3 separate regions of the Homo sapiens genome follow, and all the other regions are linked to region 3. Evidence: promoter capture Hi-C in human tissues and cell types (Jung and others, 2019). All regions are on one chromosome and are shown on one strand. Each heading gives the region's core, a stretch centred on a gene start or on the middle of the fragment in contact. The rest is flanking DNA. Distances are from core to core; before and after follow the strand shown.

Region 1 (4,333 bases), core at 1,146-3,645, 170 kb after region 3:
GCTGGAAAACAGTGTGGGACTGGGAACCCAGACAGGGCCAGGAAGAAACACATCGCCAAACATCTCGCCCCAGGCTTACAGGTCCTAGCTCCCAAGCTAGCCTTTGGGCCAGGCAAATTTTGTGTGGATTGAGCCAGGGGCAGGATCCTTGACTGCCCCAAGTCTGAGATCAGAAATTGGTTTTAAAAGAGCCAACCAGTATGCCCTTATTGAGAGAATTTTTGTTTGCTAGTTGATGCATTTTTGGGGGAGGAGAGAAACAGGCACGATCCCGCCGCCGAGGTCTAGAAGGGCGGGTAGCCCTTGATTGTTCCAGAGGGTTTAAAGTGCTCCCGTCGCCTGATACTGGGTACCCAGTGGGGTGGGGGAGAGAAGTGCCAGAGCGAGTGCTCTGGCTCTGAAGAAACGGAATGGAAGAGGAAAAGATGTCTGTGAAGAAGGGCATTTTCTCTAATCTTTACCCTTATTATTTTTTTACTTCATTAGTTTATGCTAGTGTCTCTGTCTCTTACTCAATTTTCCTCTTTTTCAATTTCTCTTTCTCCTCCTTTCTCTCTCTCTCTCTCTCACACACACACACACCCTACACACATGGGCACACACACACAGTTTTCCAGGTTTCCCTCCCAAATCCAAGAAGAAATTGTTCCCTCTTCTGTATCTCCAGTCTGTTCCGAAATCATGGCTTCACTCTCAGGGATGATAAGCCCTTCTCCTGCTTCTCTTTTCCCAGACCCCAAAGTCTTCCCTCAGCCTGCTCTGGCGTCCCCCACCCCAAGTTCCCTGCTCAAACTCCTCACTACCAGCCTTTATCCCCTGAAGTTTGAAAATCCCCTGGCTAGCAGCAACACCTCAGTCCAAACAGGGGCCCTTAGGGGTGCCTGTTCCACCCTCCGTCCTCCAGCCTCCCAGCCCTAATCAGAGGGCAGCCCGCCTGCTCGCCAGAGACCTCTGAGAATGGAAGAAAAAAGGCAAGACAGAAACTAAACTGGGATCTAATTGCCTCCCAAGTATTCCAAATGGGCTCTGTACTCCAGAATTAAGAAGCCCCCACTCCATCTCCTACCGCATTTGGGGGTATATGTCCTCTGAGATTTTCTCCAGGTTCATTTTCTTGCTTCTCGGTCCTCTTTTTCACTCCCACCCCACTATGCCCCACTGCCTTCTGTAGCCCGAGGGACCACAAAGAGTTGAGGAGGCTTGGGGAAGGGAGGGGTCTGCTGTTGTCTCTGGAACACTCCTCCACTCCCAGCTCAGCTCCAGGCCCGCTTCTCCTGCAGCCGGCCCGAGGCTGCCTGGGTGCCTTCTGGACTCTCGTGTTATTCCTAGAGGCAAAGCTGCGCAGTCCCAAAAGCGATCAGGTTCTCCTCTTCTCTCAGTTTTACAATGACCTTCTCTAACCCAATGATAGTAACAGCTAGGACAGCAGAGGTTTTGAGGTACATTCTTGGCTTTTTTTTTATTTGGGGGAGTGATAGAAAAAAAAACCCCAAAGGTACTGGTTTCTTTAAGCCTCTGGAAGCCTCCCTGGCCTGAGTCCCTGACCCACCAAGCTCAAAGTTACATGGGGTCTGACCCTGTAGGTCTCTAACCAGAGTGTAGAGATCTCAGGACAGACTTTTTGCAGCCACATGCTCAGGCACCCCTAACAGGTCTCTTTGGGGTTCCAGGCTGGCTTGAGCCCCAAGTCTAGGTCTGACTTGGATGTTTTATTTTCTTGATACTACTAATAAACACAGAAAAATACTAATAAACACAGAATAATAGCTAATAAACACAGAAAAATAGCTCCCACCCTCCATCCCCATGTCCCCCAACCCGTGCTTCCCCCCAGCTGTCAACTTTCTAGGTGGGAGGTGGGGTCCTCAGGACATTACATTCTGAGGCTCTGCAAGTGGCTTCTGTTGCTGGAGGGCAGGAAGGCCATAGGTACCCCCAGTTTATCAGGGCCCCTGGAAACCGGCTGCTCCAAATCACCTGGCCTGACTTAGCCTTGCCTGGAAGAAGTAGGGGCTGGAGGCCAGGGGCCACTCCCTATCTCATCCCAAAGTAGAGCCTGTGAGTGGGGAGAGAGAGGGAATGAGGGAAGCTTTGCCAGACACCTCCAACCTATGCTGGAGGGAACACAAAAGCTGGAAATCAACTCTCACCTTTGTTGTCCCCAGTCCCGTTCCCTCTTCTGGTGCATCCAGATGGGAGAAGGCAAAAGCCAAGTATTCTAACCAGGAAATCACAGGGTAGTGCCTTACATGAAGTTAAGAGGACCAGTTTTCCAAGCTGCCTTTAGAGAAAAGAGTCAGCTTTCTATTTCATCCCCTAGCTCCGAGTCAGCAGTTAGGCAGAGTTGCAAACACTCCTGCTTTGGGAAATGTCCTGGTGCTCTTTTTGTCTTTTCCTTCCTCCCGGAATGACTATTCCCCACCCCCTGTCCCAAATCTGCAGACACCTACATTTTTGGCTCCTGTCTTCCTCCTACAGGCCTCCTCCTTGCCTTTTCCTGCCCTGCTCAAACACACCCTAAGAAAACTTTAGCTTTTGTGGCCTTCCTCACTTGTGCCAAGAGTCATAAATCTTGCAGGGCAGAGAGAAACAAACAGGGTTGTTCTGAATAATAATAATAACCATCTTCCATCTCTTCTGCCAGTGCATTTAAAATTAAGCGACCCTGCTAGTTCTTCTCTTCTTAGAAGTACAAATGTCCTTATCACCTCTTAGCCCCTTCTGCCTATTCGGAGGTGAGAATCATAACAGAAACTTATCCATGAAGTTCTTTCAGCCCGTCTACTGCCAGCCAGTCTGGAGCTCAAACTAAAACACAGAGTCCTCCTTTTGTCACCCTTTTCTCAACCCTCCTCCCCCTGCAAGATGTTCAGAGTTTTTAAAATCATCACTCACCGCTTGTTGTCTGTTCTCAAAAAGAAAAAGGGGGAGGGGTGTTTTTTTTTTTTTTTTTTTTTTAAGTTCTGGTCTTTCCCTCTCCCTTGGTTAGAGACTGGGCCTGGAGACTGGAGGGAGATTTGGGAGGAATAGAGAGGGTGTAGTGGAGGGAAGAAGCCGGGGCTGGAGACTCAGAAGGAGGGAGCCAGAGTGTGAGGGTTGGAGACCCAGAACTACTTTCTAAAAAAGTCCTGGTGTTCCAATTGCGAATGAGTGCAGAGGGGCACCCGGCACCCTCACCCCCGGGCCAGGCCTGCCTTTGACTCAGCCTCCAAATACTACTTCTCATATTAGCATAATAGTTCACTAGTGGGGTATGGGGGGAGCTGTGAACTTCACCGCCCTTCCTTGCCTTTGCTCACCTCTTCCTCCCTGTCCCTCCAATCTAGATTTAAATTTTTACCTGTTCTTTAAGGAAAAAAAAAAAACCCTCCTTCTTTTCTTCTTACTCTTTTTTTGGGGAGGCGGGTATTTTAAAATTTCCCCCCTTCCCCATCACCACCATCACCTTCCCTCCTTATCAGGCATCTAAGCTTGCTAAAGGGGGAGAGGTGGGGGGGTGTGAGCTTGTGTGTGAGTGAGTGTGTGTGTGTGTCTGTGTGGTTTTTTTTCCCTGTGCAAAAGCAGAGGCCATTGTTACGGAGAGTAGGGCGTACCAGTCTTATAGGGCAACCACACTGTGGCGGCTTAGCCCTGCTGGAGCCCGGAGCTGGATTCTGGCGAGCTGAGCCGCCCGGCACCTTTCGGTCTTCTATTTTTTTTCCCGCTCCCCCACCCCCTCCCTCCTGCGCACCCCTGCTCCTAAGCCGAGTGAATTGAAGCGGACGCCGCGCGGCTCCTCTGGCCGGTCTGCCCCTCGGGCTCCCCAGCCGGGGTGGCTTTGCGGGGCGGGGGCGGGGGGGCGGGGGGCGACGCAGCTTTAAACAGTGGTCTTTTTTTCCTTTGCCTTCAAGGAGGGGAGATTTGTCGCCTGCCGCTCGCTCTGGGGCTCGATGTGAATATATATTATGTCTGCCTGTTCTCCCCTCGTCGGTGGCTAAGGTAAGCTGGACTGAAATAGGCTATCAGTTTGTGAATGGCGGAGAGTATGTCTCAATGATTTATGGCCCATATGACTCCAATCTCGGTTCAAGAAGAGTTCACAAGCTTTAAGCTTCCTTCCACGCAGCGACTCTCTCTCTCCCTCCCTCCCTCCCTCCCTCCCTCCCTCTCTCTCTCTCTCTCTCTCTCTCTCTCCCTCTCTCTCTCCCCTCTCTCTTCCTGCTTCTCTCCTCTTTTCTCCTCTCTCTCTTTTCTTTCAGCAGCCAGATCCAGGGCTGAATTTTCTCCGCGGCTGCTAAGAAAGTCTCAACCTTTCTCTGTCTTCCTTTCTTGTTATTTTTCTTTCTCCCATTAA
Region 2 (4,432 bases), core at 344-2,843, 180 kb before region 3:
GATGACTGAAATGGCTGGAGGAGGAAAAGAGTTGAGTGCTGAGTTTCAGTTAGAGGTGGCAATCCCTCCACAGTTGACCTCCTGTGTCAGGCACTGTGCCAGGTACTTTACACACATTATATTAATTTTTATTACAACCTTGAAAAGTAGACACAGAGACATCTGAAAGGACGTGGAACATGGGGAATAAGAACTAAACGAAGATGCTTGTGATGGGGGCATGGGGAGAAGTCAAACAGGTTTCAGGATTAATAGCTAAAGAGCACTGCCCTTTTCTTATGCGATAGGTACTATTCTATGTGCTTCTGGAAAACATCATCTACTAAATGATAGGATCTAAGATCAGTCACCCAAGAAATAAGCACAGAAAGGACTTAGGCCTTTGTTCCTATATTTGATGAGTATATTTGCTTCATAGAAGTAAAACAGACGACCCGGGGAGGGTGGGGGGTGGGGGGAGGGAAATTACAAGAAAGAAGCTCCTGAGTGGGATATTACAATCCAGAGTGGCACTGGGGAATTGGGGGGAGGTAGCCTGTGTTTCTGGAAGAGGCGTAAGAGTGGACAGCTTTGGGACACTGGAAAAGGGGTTCAAGGAAAGATTGGGGCGAGGGAAGCGATCTAGACCTGGGAAAAGACTGTGTGGAGGGAATCTGAGAAAAACGGAGGATAAAAAGAAAGGTTGGCTCGAGTCAGAGGCATGGCAAAGGAAGCTGAGTTCGTCTGTGTTAGGAACGGGGCTCCAGAGGAGAAGAGAGGGGACCGATGGGTGGGGCCTGCGGGCAGCATCTAGCAAGGTTGGGGTGGGGAAGGGGAAATAGGGGCGGCGCCGAAGGCGGGAGGGGGCGTTACTGAAGCGCTAAAGGGTCGGGTTTCCACCCGGAGGTGGGAGGTGTGGGGGAGGGTGGCCGGAATGGAGACGGAGGGCTCACGGGAGGTTGTCGAGGGGCGGGGTCGGATCTGGGCACACGAGGCGGGGGTTGGTGCTTGCGGGTCTGAGGGTGGGGGGAGAAGGGAGTTGGATCCCGACGCCCGGAGCTGGCAAGATTTGGGCCGTGGAGGTGGGCCGCCGCGAGGGCAGCGCAGTGGGTGGGGGGTGAGTTGTAGTGGGAGAGGGTGGGGGGCGGGGAAGGTCGAGCCCCGGAGCTCGGGGCTGGGGGAGGAAAAACCCCGGCTCACCGCTTGATCCGGAGTAGACACTGCGGCGCGGTGCGCTCGCCGTCCCAGTCGGAGCTGAGCGTGGGGTCCCAGTGGCTAAGCAGCGCGGCCCCGTGGGCAGCGGCTGAGGGCGGGAGCCCGGGCAGCGGAGCCAGGCCGCTCCCCGGGCCCCCGGCCCCGCCCGCTGCCGCCGCCGCCGCCCACACATCCGGCAGGAAAGGCGGCCCGAACCCGCCGCCGCTGCCGCTAACGCCAACAACACCAGCAACGCTGCTCGCCCCGGGGCCCGCCGCCCCGGCGCCCGCCGTTGCCGCCTCCTCAGTCGGACTCTCCGCCATCGCTGCTTCGCTTCCGGGACTACTCGGCAGCACGTCCGCCGACCAGAGCGGCCGCTGCTCCCGCCCGCTCCCGCACCACCGAGAACCGGGCCAGAGTGTCCCCACCCCCTCCGCTTCCACAGCCCAGACGGTGCTGGCTCCGCCCACCCCCGCCCCAACCAGCGAGAGGCGCTCTGCAAGAGCGTCCACCTACGGTCCTCCAGGACGGGAGGGGTGGGAACTAGCAGGCCGTGATGGTTCTGGGCTCGTGTGGGTCCTGCGCTGTGCGGAAGTAGCGGAGAGCCCAATTCAAGTGTTGAAAGGGGAGAAGAGAGGAGGGAGTGGGGGAGGAAGGGCCATATCATTCCCGTTAATGGCGGCGACCCTCAGACGTCTGCATGGTTAGGATTGGGGATCCAGCATCCTCATGGGAAGCTCAGTAGAGAAGTTGACTCGCTTTGGGCCCCTTCTCTCGGAAAGGCTCTGCGATTGATCCCTCCTGCACACTTGTGCACCTAGGGCAGGGTACCATTGCCCTTGCCTGCAACAGGACCAAGAGAGAACTCAACTTGGAATGAAAAGCTACCTCTTTTAGAGTTTATTCAACATATATTTATGAAGGGCCTACTAAATGCCAGTCACTGTTGCTAGTTGTTGCCATGGGGATAATGAAACAGAACTAGAGAAGCTTGGTGAAAGGAAGAAACATCAGGCCTCCTGACTCCAAGCTTAGTACTTTTTCTTCCCACAAATCTTGGAATATACAGGAATCGAGGTACTGTGAGTGTAAACCCTGAGGATTCTTTGGGTCTTTCCTAAAATGTTTAAAGTGAAAAATAATCTGCCAGGCTCGGTGGCTCACGCCTGTAATCCCAGCACTTTGGGAGGCCGAGGTGGGCGAATCACGAGGTTAGGAGTTCGAGACCAGCCTAACATGGTGAAACCCCGCCTCTATTAAAAATACAAAAATTAGCCGGGCGTGGTGGCGTGCACCTGTAGTCCCAGCTACTCAGGAGGCTTAGGCAGGTGGATCACTTGAACCCGGGAGGCGGAGTTTGCAGTGAGTTGAGATCACGCCACTGCACTCCAGCCTGGGCGACAGAGCCAGACTCCGTCTCAAAAAAAAAAAAAAAAATTCCTATGGACTAAGAATGACAGGGGCCTTCCTAAAAAACTGTTTTTCCTTGCCGGGCGCGGTGGCTCATGCCTGTAATCCCAGCACTTTGGGAGGCTGAGGCGGGCGGATCACTAGGTCAGGAGATCAAGACCATCCTGGCTAACACTGTGAAACCCCGTCTCTACTAAAAATACAAAAAATTAGCCGGGCGTGGTGGCGGGCGCCTGTAGTCCCAGCTACTCGGAAGGCTGAGGCAGGAGAATGGCGTGAACCCGGGAGGCGGAGCTTGCAGTGGGCGGAGATCGTGCCACTGCACTCCAGCCTGGGCGACAGAGCAAGACTCCGTCTCAAAACAAAAACAAAAACTTTTTTCCCTAGCAAAAATATAGGATCAATATTAACTGGAAACCAGTGGGGCCAGATGTATTTCAGACTTTGGAATGACACACCAAGCAAGGAGTGGGGCAGCGCCGGGTAGCCAAACCTATTGACATTTCTGCATCAAAGTGTATGAACATTCGTACCAAGTCAAATGAATAGCCTCACTTTGGATGTTTTGCCACCAAGTTTGGTTTTTTAAAAAAGAAGTCTGGGCCGGGCACGGTGGCTCACGTCTGTAATCCCAACAATTTGGGAGGCCGAGGTGGGTGGATCACCTGAGGTAAGGAGTTCGAGACCAGCTTGACCAATATGGTGAAACCCCGTCTCTACTAAAAATACAAAAATTAGCCGGGTGTGTTGGCAGGCGCCTGTAGTCCCAACTACTCAGGAGGCTGAGACAGAAGAATCACTTGAACCCGGGAAGGAGAAGTTGCAGTGAGCCGAGACTGAGTCACTGCACTCCATCCTGGGTAAAAGAGTGAGACTCCGTCTCAAAAAAAAGAGTCTGGCTTTAGAGTTTTTTTGTTTTTTGTTTTTTGTTTTTAAAGAGGGAATCTTGCTCTTGTCACGCAGGCTGGAGTGCAATGGCGCAATCGTGGCTCACTGCAATCTCCGCCTCCTGGGTTCAAACAATTCTCCTGCCTCAGCCTCCCCAGTAGCTGAGATTACAAGCATGCCTCTATGCCTGGCTAATTTTTTGTATTTTTTTAGTAGAGGCGCCTCTACGCCTGGCTAATTTTTTGTATTTTTTTAGTAGAGGCGAGGTTTCACCATGTTGGCCAGGAAGGTCTCCAACTCCTTTTGGAGTTGGATCAAGTCATCCGCCCTTCTCGGTCTCCCAAAGTGCTGGGATTACAGAAGTCATCCACCCACCCCACCCTTCCTGCCTTTTAGAGTTTTATGAATTTACAGTAATGGAATGCAGACCTGAAGGATAATGACCAAGATTTATGGAGAGCTAAAGATTGATTTGTTTTGAGACAGGGTCTTGCTCTGTCACCCAGACTGGAGTGCAGTGATGGGATCACAACTCACTGCAACCTCTGCCTCAGCCCTCCAAGTAGCTGGGATTACAGACACGTGCCACGATGCCCGGCTAATTTTTGTATTTTTCTGTAGAAGCGAGGTTTCACCATGTTGCCCAGGTTGGTCTCGAACTTCTGGGCTCAAGCAGTCCTTCCGCCTTGGCCTCCTAAAGTGCTCGGGATTACAGGCGTCAGCCACCGTGCTTGGCCTAAAAAATTATTTTTTTAGCAGACATTTATTGAGTGTTTAATATGTGGCAGGCATTTTGTATACTTTGGCTTTATTCCTTTCAACACTCAGTGAAGTAGTAGGTACTATTATTTATTTATTTTTATTTTTTTTTTGGTTTGGAGTCTTGCTCTGTCGCCCAGGCTGGAGTGCAGTGGCGCGATCTCGGCTCACTGCAAGCTCCACCTCCAAGGTTTACACCATT
Region 3 (4,427 bases), core at 434-2,933:
CAAAGTGGCTCAAGTTCAAGGTCAGGTTGGTGAGAGGCTATGATTGAGTCTGCCCAGAGTTTAGGGTAAGCCATTCCATATAATTGTCAAGACCCTCGTGTAGAATGGAAACATTCCTGTCTTCTCCAGAAAAACTGGGAGTTCTAGAAAAAGCAGACAGAAGGATTTGATTTGGGAGGGGTAGTAAAGGAAGCGGAAAACCTCTAAAGACAGATTTGTGAAACAAACCGTTTGATTCTTCTGAATTGCACTGCACATTAGGCCCCAACAGAGGGGCCTCAAGCAATTCTGCCAGTGGCTGGGGTTTCCCCTTCCATTCCCTTTTCCTTGTAAGGAAGTTTAAAGCTTGCAGGAGGCAGATAGGGGTCTTGGGCTTTCTGGGTACTCAGCTTGTGTGGGAGTATGCCAGTATCAGGGACAGTTTCCTGGGCCCCTTGCAGACCATAGGGAGAGGACTGCAGGGCAGGGAGACTGGCATCTCCACACAGGCGTCTGTATTCTTGGGGTCCAGAACTCCCGCAGCTGGTTTCTGGCAGTCAGCCAGGCTTGGCTTCCTCAGACTTCTTTAGATCCCAAAAAAGGGGGAAAGTGCCTCTCTTCTTTCTCTTTTCTGACTGACACTTCAGGATTTTACAAGATTTTGTCCCATCCGCTCTGTCAGCTTCTCTCTTTCCCTCTTTGTGTTGCTGTCCCTGAGTCTCATCTCTCCCTCTCCCCGTCCCTCCCTCAAGTCCTGTGGGTCTCCGTCCCTCCGTATGTCTTTACTTAAAGGGAAATCCAGACCCTTCCACAGGCCACTCTAGAGGCTCCATTTCCCCTTCAGGTCCGGAAGTGGAGTGTCCTGGGTTCCATCCAGATCGCATGTCTTCTACGTCTACGTTCGTGTCTCCCGCCTCTTCCCTCAGCCTCACCCGAATCAGGGCCTCCAGAGCATTCTGGGCAGTAGCGAGTCCCTGGGTAAGGGGCGTCCAGGGCACCTCCCTGGGGCCCGGAGCAGCTCATTCCAGGACATCTGGGACAGGAAGGGTACCGGGAATGAACTGGGGTGCTAGTACCCAGGACCCAAAGCCAGGGGCTGCCAGAAATACCTATTAACCCCCATTTCCCAGCCTCCTCTTACACAGGCGCATTCCCGGGTTCTCCTCTGAGGCCGGGAGCGGCCTCCCAGCCCCACCCCCGACTCCCCTTCCCCCCCAGGAGATGGACACTTTATAGAGAGAGCTTTTTATTCTCTCGTTAAACCTGTCAAAGCGCAGGAGACAGAAAGCTAGGGAGGGAGAGGAGGAGAAGGAGGTGGGGCCCGGCTCCTCGTCCCCTCTTCCTCCGCCCACCACGCCTCCCCTCCCCCCGGACGTGTAAATGAGACTCTGCAAACTGGAAAGCAGCGAAAGGACACCTCCTTCCTTTTCTCTCTTGTTGTTTTTAAGTGGAATGAGAGAGAGAGGAGTGGAGAGGGAAAAGAAGAGAGAGAGGGAGAAGAGAGAGAGGAGAGAAAGAGCGAGAGAGCGAGAGAGAGAGACAGAGACAGAGAGAGAGAGAGAGAGAGAGAGAGAGAGAAAGAGAGAGAGAGAGAGAGAGAATAAGCTGGGGTAAAGTATTTTCGCAGTTTCTGCCTTTAGGATTTTATTAGCTTCTCTCCCCCAGGCCGCAGCCAATCAGCGCGCGTGCCCGGGCCCCTGCGTCTCTTGCGTCAAGACGGCCGTGCTGAGCGAATGCAGGCGACTTGCGAGCTGGGAGCGATTTAAAACGCTTTGGATTCCCCCGGCCTGGGTGGGGAGAGCGAGCTGGGTGCCCCCTAGATTCCCCGCCCCCGCACCTCATGAGCCGACCCTCGGCTCCATGGAGCCCGGCAATTATGCCACCTTGGATGGAGCCAAGGATATCGAAGGCTTGCTGGGAGCGGGAGGGGGGCGGAATCTGGTCGCCCACTCCCCTCTGACCAGCCACCCAGCGGCGCCTACGCTGATGCCTGCTGTCAACTATGCCCCCTTGGATCTGCCAGGCTCGGCGGAGCCGCCAAAGCAATGCCACCCATGCCCTGGGGTGCCCCAGGGGACGTCCCCAGCTCCCGTGCCTTATGGTTACTTTGGAGGCGGGTACTACTCCTGCCGAGTGTCCCGGAGCTCGCTGAAACCCTGTGCCCAGGCAGCCACCCTGGCCGCGTACCCCGCGGAGACTCCCACGGCCGGGGAAGAGTACCCCAGCCGCCCCACTGAGTTTGCCTTCTATCCGGGATATCCGGGAACCTACCAGCCTATGGCCAGTTACCTGGACGTGTCTGTGGTGCAGACTCTGGGTGCTCCTGGAGAACCGCGACATGACTCCCTGTTGCCTGTGGACAGTTACCAGTCTTGGGCTCTCGCTGGTGGCTGGAACAGCCAGATGTGTTGCCAGGGAGAACAGAACCCACCAGGTCCCTTTTGGAAGGCAGCATTTGCAGGTACCTCTATTACCCTGGGTCCCCTTGTCTCTGAGCCTGGGGTTGTGGGTCCCAATGGCATTTCCCTGGGAGGAGGAGGAGGGAGACTTGGAGCTGGTGAGGATGAGCTTGGTGCTCCTCCCTTGGTTATTAGGACTCTGAAGGAGGTCTGAGTAGCTGGAGGGCCTGGATGGAGGTCAGTGTGAGGGGCCTGAGCTGGGTGCTATCTGAAGCCTGAAGGCCACCTCACTTCTCCAGGAGGCCCTGGGACCAGCCTTTCAACATGTCTGAGAGGTTTAGATCTCTTTGCTGTTGAGTGGGGATCAGGGTGTCCCTACCCAGCACAATTCCAAACTAATTCTACACAAAAGCTAAATAACTCTCAATTCGGTGCGTGGGGAGTGGGTGTGGGAGATGGGTAAAAAGGTATTGGATGTACTGTAGAGAATACAACCTCTCACTTTCTATTAGATGAGTTTTCCAATTTCCAAAGAAAAATTTAGGTTTCCTGCAGCCGTGACATATGTGTGTGCACTGGGATGGGTTAATGTGTGTGTGTGTGTGTGTATGCGCATGTATTGGGAGTGGGGGCAGAAACGTGTTTCCAGAATTTGCCTGTAGAATCTAAAAGAGTGGCCAAGAGTCTGGAAATGCATGAAGACTGGACGTATGTGATGGTGGGCAAAGGCCTGACTGTGTGTGGTGTGTGGGTATGTTTGCAGATTCGCGGGTGTGAGAGCAGTGATGGGTGAGGGTGGCCTTCAGGAGCCAAGGCTGAGCGGTGGTGAGAGAACAAGCCGGAAGCCAGGGTGCTGTCCTGGTATGCTTTGGAGGAACAGGATTGCACGTGCGCCTGTAGGGTGACCTGTGTGCACCTGTGAGATGACTTAGCTTGGGGCTTGCAAGGCCTGGGTCTGCATGGGTGGGTATCTGACCATGCCTTTTCCTCCCTCCCTTTCACGCCGCGCAGACTCCAGCGGGCAGCACCCTCCTGACGCCTGCGCCTTTCGTCGCGGCCGCAAGAAACGCATTCCGTACAGCAAGGGGCAGTTGCGGGAGCTGGAGCGGGAGTATGCGGCTAACAAGTTCATCACCAAGGACAAGAGGCGCAAGATCTCGGCAGCCACCAGCCTCTCGGAGCGCCAGATTACCATCTGGTTTCAGAACCGCCGGGTCAAAGAGAAGAAGGTTCTCGCCAAGGTGAAGAACAGCGCTACCCCTTAAGAGATCTCCTTGCCTGGGTGGGAGGAGCGAAAGTGGGGGTGTCCTGGGGAGACCAGGAACCTGCCAAGCCCAGGCTGGGGCCAAGGACTCTGCTGAGAGGCCCCTAGAGACAACACCCTTCCCAGGCCACTGGCTGCTGGACTGTTCCTCAGGAGCGGCCTGGGTACCCAGTATGTGCAGGGAGACGGAACCCCATGTGACAGCCCACTCCACCAGGGTTCCCAAAGAACCTGGCCCAGTCATAATCATTCATCCTGACAGTGGCAATAATCACGATAACCAGTACTAGCTGCCATGATCGTTAGCCTCATATTTTCTATCTAGAGCTCTGTAGAGCACTTTAGAAACCGCTTTCATGAATTGAGCTAATTATGAATAAATTTGGAAGGCGATCCCTTTGCAGGGAAGCTTTCTCTCAGACCCCCTTCCATTACACCTCTCACCCTGGTAACAGCAGGAAGACTGAGGAGAGGGGAACGGGCAGATTCGTTGTGTGGCTGTGATGTCCGTTTAGCATTTTTCTCAGCTGACAGCTGGGTAGGTGGACAATTGTAGAGGCTGTCTCTTCCTCCCTCCTTGTCCACCCCATAGGGTGTACCCACTGGTCTTGGAAGCACCCATCCTTAATACGATGATTTTTCTGTCGTGTGAAAATGAAGCCAGCAGGCTGCCCCTAGTCAGTCCTTCCTTCCAGAGAAAAAGAGATTTGAGAAAGTGCCTGGGTAATTCACCATTAATTTCCTCCCCCAAACTCTCTGAGTCTTCCCTTAATATTTCTGGTGGT

What was found. Contacts are between HindIII fragments. The study calls those that stand out against the background at their distance.
Region 1: a contact is called between a fragment that was not itself captured here and the fragment with the promoter of HOXB13 in region 3, in 2 of the 25 tissues and cell types used here (H1 embryonic stem cells and mesendoderm cells).
Region 2: a contact is called between the fragment with the promoter of UBE2Z here and the fragment with the promoter of HOXB13 in region 3, in 1 of the 25 tissues and cell types used here (mesenchymal stem cells).

Annotation. Positions count from the first base shown.
Region 1 is chr17:48,555,176-48,559,508 of GRCh38, reverse strand. HOXB3 (homeobox B3) reads left to right here. Exons shown (of 5, transcript NM_001384749.1): 3 at 3,891-3,978. It overlaps HOXB-AS2 (HOXB cluster antisense RNA 2), which reads right to left and starts at 3,352. Exons shown (of 2, transcript NR_046610.1): 1 at 2,151-3,352. The HindIII fragment of the contact is 5,652 bases long and covers 1-4,333 here.
Region 2 is chr17:48,905,568-48,909,999 of GRCh38, reverse strand. It overlaps UBE2Z (ubiquitin conjugating enzyme E2 Z), which reads right to left and starts at 1,593. Exons shown (of 7, transcript NM_023079.5): 1 at 1,180-1,593. The coding sequence starts at 1,496. LOC105371814 (a long non-coding RNA gene) reads left to right here and starts at 1,017. Exons shown (of 4, transcript NR_135674.1): 1 at 1,017-1,061. RefSeq lists silencers at 805-934, 1,205-1,454. The HindIII fragment of the contact is 7,727 bases long and covers 1-4,429 here.
Region 3 is chr17:48,726,006-48,730,432 of GRCh38, reverse strand. It overlaps HOXB13 (homeobox B13), which reads left to right and starts at 1,683. Exons shown (of 2, transcript NM_006361.6): 1 at 1,683-2,440; 2 at 3,390-4,427. The coding sequence starts at 1,840. The coding sequence ends at 3,643. The HindIII fragment of the contact is 5,391 bases long and covers 1-2,198 here.